Linked DNA regions of Homo sapiens: region 2 is linked to region 1. Evidence: promoter capture Hi-C in human tissues and cell types (Jung and others, 2019). All regions are on one chromosome and are shown on one strand. The core of a region is centred on a gene start or on the middle of the fragment in contact, and the rest is flanking DNA. Distances in the headings are between cores, read along the strand shown.

What was found. Contacts are between HindIII fragments. The study calls those that stand out against the background at their distance.
Region 2: a contact is called between a fragment that was not itself captured here and the fragment with the promoter of ARFGAP3 in region 1, in 4 of the 25 tissues and cell types used here (liver, lymphoblastoid cells, pancreas and 1 more).

Annotation. Positions count from the first base shown.
Region 1 is chr22:42,855,364-42,858,830 of GRCh38, reverse strand. It overlaps ARFGAP3 (ARF GTPase activating protein 3), which reads left to right and starts at 1,558. Exons shown (of 16, transcript NM_014570.5): 1 at 1,558-1,717. The coding sequence starts at 1,649. RefSeq lists a silencer at 1,283-2,032 and an enhancer at 1,555-2,399. The HindIII fragment of the contact is 10,713 bases long and covers 1-3,467 here.
Region 2 is chr22:42,748,660-42,752,368 of GRCh38, reverse strand. No RefSeq gene overlaps it. Among named protein-coding and RNA genes, the nearest start is that of A4GALT, 30 kb to the right of the region's middle. RefSeq lists an enhancer at 3,235-3,709. The HindIII fragment of the contact is 7,860 bases long and covers 1-3,709 here.

The DNA.
Region 1 (3,467 bases), core at 309-2,808:
CTGACTTCTAACAGTAGAAAGCCTCCACCAAAGGCTCTTCAGGATATCCCTAGGAAGCTGCTCACCTGTGCTACTCAGCACTGATTCTTTAATTTCTTTGTACAGATGAATAAACCATGGTTTATTTTATTTTACTTTTTGAGACAGGGTCTTGGTCTGTCGCCCATGCTGGAGTGCAGTGGTGCGATCTTGGCTCACTGCAGCCTCGACCTCCTGGACTAAAGCGATCCTCCCACCTCAGCCTCCCAAGTAGCTAGGACTACAGGCCCATGCCAGCATGCCCGGCTAATTTTTGCATTTTTTTATAGAGACGGGGTTTCACCATATTATCCAGTCTGGTCTTGAACTCCTGAGCTCAAGTGATCCTCCCGCCTCAGCCTCCCAAAGTGCTGGGATCACAGGCATGAGCCCCTGAGACTGCAAATAAACCATGCTTTAGAGAAGGTAAGTGTCTTGACCAAGGCCACAGAGCTAGGAAGCAGCTGGCTGAACTGGGATTGAGGCCAAGGTAGTGCCTTTGATGCCAAAACCTGCTGTCCTTCCTCACTATCACCCAACCTCTTTCCAGTGGCTCCACACCCATTGTGGTGACAGAGGCACCTTCTGCTGAGTGTAAACTCTTCTGGCTGGAATTGTTTCCCAGAGGGTAGGGTGCAGCCCCGAGGGCCGGGGTTAAAAGTCAAGCTTCTCATCTGGACTCATCAGTTCTGACTGAGCACTTCTGCCTCAACCCGCACTGCCATCTCTCCATGAACGTGACACAAAAGCCCTTGGTTTCAGAAAGCCAGTTTCCGGGCAAAGAAAGCTTTCCACCCAGGGCCTGGCGTGAGCTGAGGGCAAGAATTAAAAAGAGTCGGGCGCGGCGGCTCACGTCTGTAATCCCAGCAATTTGGAAGGCCGAAGTGGGTGGATCACCTGAAGTCAGGAGTTCGAGACCAGCCTGGGCAACATGGTGAAACCCTGGTCTCTACTAAAAATACAAAAATTAGCCGGGCGTGGTGATGTACGCCTGTAATCCCACCTACTCGGGAGGCTGAGGCAGGAGAATCGCTTGAACCAGGGAGGTTGCAAGGAGCCGCAATCGCGCCATTACACTCCAGCCTGGGGGACAGAGCGAGGCTCCGTCTCAAAAAAAAAAAAAAAAAAAGGGAAGGCCACCAGCTAAGGTCCGGCGTCAAGGCACGGGCCCTCCGTCCGTCTCGTGCCGAAGGAGGGCGCGTGCGCCCCTTCCCCTGCCTCTGACCTTTCCATGGAAGCAGCCCGTTAGGCGAAATGGCGATCGACCAGGCGAAACGTTGGTGGATCCTATGGCAGCGCGCGTGGCAGGCAGCCACACCCGGGCCCGGCTTCGCCCAGCGCTAAGGGCGTGGAGCCGCGCCGCAAATGGCGCGCGAGCCTCCTGCGCACGCGCGTGCAGCGCCTGGGGTCGGGCCAGCGGCGCGGCTGAAGCGAGGGCGGGGAGGGAAAGCGAGCGGCGCCTGCGCCCCGGCGGTGGACGGGCCCGGTCGTGGGCGGGGATTGGGGCGGAGCCTGACCGTTACGCGCAGCCCCGCCCCCGCGGCCTCGTCGCTCCTGCTGAGGCGGTAGCCGCTTTTCGTCGACTCTTACCGGTTGGCTGGGCCAGCTGCGCCGCGGCTCACAGCTGACGATGGGGGACCCCAGCAAGCAGGACATCTTGACCATCTTCAAGCGCCTCCGCTCGGTGCCCACTAACAAGGTAGCGGCCGCGGGCGAGTGCGGGCCTGCCTGGCATCCCTGCGGGAACCGGCGGGAGGCCCCGCGGGCGCCAGTGCCCGTGGCTTGGGAGGCGGGGCCGGCGCGGCCTGTGACACGTCGCACTGTGGGGCCGCGGCAGCCTGGCCGGGCCGGGGCGGGCGGGGCCGGGCAGCTGAGAGGCCCGGGCGGGAGGCCGCAGCGCGGGGGTCCTCACGCGAGCCGGGGAGCGTTCCCGGGGGCGGCGGCGCGGGCACACCCCCCGGCGAGCTCTTGGGGCGGGGGGCGAGCACCGGCGGCTCTGAGCGGAGGCGGGGGCGGGGGCATCCTCGGGGGCGCTGCGAGGAGGGAGCTCCCGGCTCGGAAACCCCGGCTGCTGGCGCCGGATGCGGGGAAAGCGCGGCTCCCCCAGCGCCACCCTGGAGCTCGACCCCGCCTGTTGGAGCCGGCTTGGCTCCTCGGGCCTTGCGGTGCCTGCCTCAGTTTCTCTTCTGATAAAGTTGCCGAGTAGTCTACGCTTTGGCTTCCAGCTTTTGTCGCTTTGGCCAGGGAGGCTCACCACAGCCTCCTCCCTCTCCTCGGTTCTCTTTGGAGATGGAGGTTTCCTTTTTTTTTTTGTCTCCAGAGGCTGTTCTCTCCCTGGAACTTTTACAGCTTTGCGCAGCTGGCTGGAGGCGTTGGGGTGACGCAGGGGGCTAAGGTGACACGTCGGGTCGGAGAGGGACTTGGAGAGTGCAAAGGGCTGTCGCGTCAGCGTGGGCTCTCCCCGCCCCTCCTGTGACACGAGTGTTGTCTGGTTCCCACTGTCACTTCCCGAAGGGAACAGCTGTTATTGAACCTCGATATGCTGGCATAGAAAGTTCCCGAGTGTTACAAAATAGGTGTTTCTGTTGGTTTTAAGTCTTGATGGTACAGGGGAGCCCATATTTTTTCCAGCCTAGGTGAGGAAGGAAACAGTTTATTGGAGGTGATGTCTGATGGATGTGGGAAAGTTAAGAGAAAGGCTCCAGGAATTCTCCAGTGCCCGTTTCTTTACTGTTCTCTTGATTTTCACATTTTTATTTATTTATTTTTTTAGAGACAGGGTCTCACCCCGTCACCCAGGCTGAAGTGTAGTGCCTTGATCCTAGCTCACTGCAGCCTTGACCTACCCAGCCCAAGCCATCCTTCCTTCCCAGCCTCCTGATGAGGCTGACACCACAGGGCTGTACCACCACGCCCAGCTAATTGTTATTATTAATTAATTAATTAATTAATTTTTGTAGAGACAGGGTCTTGCTATGTTGCCCGTGCTGGTGTCAAATTCCTGGGCTCAAGCAGTCCTCCTGCCTCCTCCTGCCTTGGCCTCCCAGAGTGCTAGGATTACAGGCATGAGCCACCATGCTGGCCTTAATGTTCTTTTTTTTTTTTTTAACGTTTTAATTTTAATTTTTTTGAGACAGAGCCTTGCTCTGTCGCCCAGGCTGGAGTGCAGTGGTGCGATCTCAGCTCACTGCAACCTCTGCCTCCTGGGTTTGAGCAATTCTGCCTCAGCCTCCTGAGTCGCCAGGATTACAGGCATCCACCACTACACTCAAGTAATTTTTATATTTTTAGTAGAGACGAGGTTTCACCATGTCAGTCACTCTGGTCTCAAACTCCTGGCCTCAAGTGATCCACCCGCCTCGGCCTCCTGAAGTGCTGGGATTACAGGCGTGAGCCACCGCGCCCAGCCTTGATTTTTAAATTTAGATTGATGTGTTTATAAAGAGTGG
Region 2 (3,709 bases), core at 1,091-3,590, 110 kb after region 1:
CAAGGGATAATTCTAAGTCCTCTCTCAGCTCCCAAAAGGCTGACCCCACCCTGCGCAGCACGGTCCTTTGTCCTGCTTTCCTGGGGGAACCACTTGTAAGTTGATTTGGGAACTCGTCCTAGCTCCAGATTGTTTTGCTTTATTTCAAATAACAGGTCAAGGCAGCTTGAACAGGGGCGTGAAAGGAAGTCAGAGGCAATCCCGGGGCAGCGGCCCTGCAGGGCGGCCCCCCACCCTGAGGTCTCCCACAGACTGGCTAGGTTTCAGGGCCATCTGAGGACACGGCTGGGACAGGCCCCCACCCCTCGTCACCTGGCCTTGCACTGTGTTTCAGCATCTGGGGTGGGGGTGTTCCATGGGCAGATACGAAGTCTCACAGTTTCCTAACAGGAAACGTGGGGCGTGGAGGCCTTCTTCGGGTCCCAGTCCACTGGGGTTAAGAAGAAGGGCTTGGGGCCAGGCACAGTAGTTCATGCTTGTAATCCCAGCACTTTGGGAGGCCAAGGCGGGCAGATCACTTGAGGTCAGGAGTTCAAGACCAGCCTGACCAACATGGTGAAACCATGTCTCTACTAAAATTACAAAAGAAATTAGCCAGGCGTGGCCAGGCGCGGTGGCTCATGCCTGTAATACCAGCACTTTGGGAGGCAGAGGCAGGCGGATCACAAGGTCAGGAGTTCAAGACCAGCACGGCCAACATGGTGAAACCCCATCTCTGTTAAAAATACAAAAATCAGCAGGGCGTAGCCGGGCACGGTGGCTCACGCCTGTAATCCCAGCACTTTGGGAAGCCGAGGCGGGTGGATCACTTGAGGTCAGGGGTTCGAGACCAGCCTGGCCAACATGGTGAAACTGACTCTACTAAAAATACAAAAATTAGCTGGGCATGGTGTCATGCGCCTGTAATCCCAGCACTTTGGGAGGCCTAGGCGGGCAGATCACCTGAGTTCAGGAGTTCGAGACCAGCCTGGCCAACATGGTGAAACCCCGTTTCTATTAAAAGATGAAAATTAGGGCTCTTGGAGGGGAATCAAACACAGGGAGTAGCTCTCCCTCTCCCTGTCCCTGTCCCTGTCCCTCTCCCTCTCCTCATGGTCTCCCTCTCCCCATGGTCTCCCTCTCCCTCTCTTTCCACGGTCTCCCTCTCATGCCGAGCCGAAGCTGGACTATACTGCTGCCATCTCGGCTCACTGCAACCTCCCTGCCTGATTCTCCTGCCTCAGCCTGCGGAGTGCCTGCAATTGCAGGCGCGCGCCACCACGCCTGACTGGTTTTCGTATTTTTTTGGTGGAGACGGGGTTTCGCTGTGTTGGCCGGGCTGGTCTCCAGCTCCTAACCGCGAGTGATCTGCCAGCCTCGGCCTCCCGAGGTGCCGGGTTTGCAGACGGAGTCTGGTTCACTCAGTGCTCAGTGGCGCCCAGGCTGGAGTACAGTGGCGTGATCTCGGCTCGCTACAACCTCCACCTCCCAGCCGCCTGCCTTGGCCTCCCAAAGTGCCGAGATTGCAGCCTCTGCCCGGCCGCCACCCCGTCTGGGAAGTGAGGAGCGTCTCTGCCTGGCCGCCCATCGTCTGGGATGTGAGGAGCCCCTCTGCCTGGCTGCCCAGTCTGGAAAGTGAGGAGCGTCTCTGCCCAGCCGCCATCCCATCTAGGAAGTGAGGAGCGCCTCTTCCCGGCCGCCGTCACATCTAGGAAGTGAGGAGCGTCTCTGCCCGGCCGCCCCGTCTGAGAAGTGAGGAGCCCCTCCGCCCGGCAGCCGCCCCGTCCGGGAGGGAGGTGGGGGGGTCAGCCCCCCGCCCGGCCAGCCGCCCCGTCTGGGAGGTGAGGGGCGCCTCTGCCCGGCCGCCCCTGCTGGGAGGTGAGGAGCCCCTCTGCCCGGCCACCACCCCGTCTGGGAGGTGTGCCCAACAGCTCATTGAGAGCGGGCCAGGATGACAATGGCGGCTTTGTGGAATGGAGCGGGGGGAAAGGTGGGGAAAAGATTGAGGAATCGGATGGTTGCCGTGTCTGTGTAGAGGGAGGTAGACATGGGAGACTTTTCATTTTGTTCTGTACTAAGAAAAATTCTTCTGCCTTGGGATCCTGTTGATCTGTGACCTTACCCCCGACCCTGTGCTCTCTGAAACATGTGCTGTGTCCACTCAGAGTTAAATGGATTAAGGGCGGTGCAAGATGTGCTTTGTTAAACAGATGCTTGAAGGCAGCATGCTCGTTAGGAGTCATCACCACTCCCTAATCTCAAGTACCCAGGGACACAAACACTGCGGAAGGCCGCAGGGTCCTCTGCCTAGGAAAACCAGAGACCTTTGTTCACTTGTTTATCTGCTGACCTTCCCTCCACTATTGTCCTTTGACCCTGCCAAATCCCCCTCTGTGAGAAACACCCAAGAATGATCAATAAAAATAAATAAATAAATAAATAAATAAATAAAAAAGAAAATTAGCTGGGCGTGGTGTTGTGCACCTATAATCTCAGCTACTCGGGAGGGTGAGGCAGGAGAATCACTTGAACCTGGGAGGCACAGGTTGCAGTGAGCCGAGTTTGTGCCACTGCACTCCAGCCTGGGTGACAGAGTGAGACTCCATAAAAAAAAAAAAAAAAAACAACTCTGTGAGGCCCACACTGTAAGGAAGCACAGAAGTAGCAAAGGCTTTGCTGAGTATTGGGAACCTACCCTGGGCAACAAGCTCAGACCTGCCTGGGAAGGAGCTGTGCCCAGCAATGATGCAATGATGAAATGATGCTTTTTTTTTTTTTGAAAGGCATGTGCCACCATGCCTGGCTAATTTTGTATTTTTAGTAGAGACGTGGTTTCACCATGTTGGCCAGGCTGGTCTCGAACTCCTAACCTCAAGTGATCCACCTGCCTCGGCCTCCCAAAATGCTGTTATTACAGGCATGAGCCACCGCGCCCAACCAGTGATGCTTATTTTTTCTGCCAGTGGTGAGGCTGCGAACACAGGGACCATGGGAGTGGGAGCAGCCAGCCTGAGGACGGACAGTAGTGCAGGGGCACCCCCACCTGGCATGGGAGGTTAAGAGCCAGCCACCAGGCCTACATGGCTGGGGAGGGTGGATCCCTAGCTGCCAGGAGAGGGTGGTGCCACTGGGGAGGCCACAGAATGTCCTCTTCGAGTCCCTGAGCCTGCATCCTGCAGGCTGCAAAGCGCAGTTGCCTGGAGTAGCTGGTGCCGACTGGGATAATAACCAAGCGCTTCTCATTGCTGTGGGGGCATCTCTCTTTCCCATCCCAACAAAGAGGCCAGGCCTTCGGCTCGCTTGTCTCTGGGAAAGCAGACAGAGCGGGCAACCAGATCACAGCCTCCCTGGCCAGCACCCACACACCCTGGAGTGGCAGAAACTGGGGCTCCCTCAGAGGATTAGGCTGGGGCAAGCAGGAGGGCAGTGGGTTAGAGGCAGGTGCAGGCGGAGGGGAGGGATTGGCAGCCTCCCCACCTAAGCCTCGGAAGGGATGAGGCCCCTCCTAGCCTCAGATGGGAGGACCCTGGGAATGTAGCTGCAGGGGAGCCCAGGATAGCCAAACCCTGGAGATAGGGGTCCCAGGGAAACTCCTTATAAAATTTATAAAATTAATCAGGGGCTCGGTGCAATGGCTCATACCTGTCATCCCAGCACTTTGGGAGGCTGAGGCAGGCAAATCACTTGAGGTTAGGAGTTTGAGACCAGCCTGGTCAACATGGCAAAACCC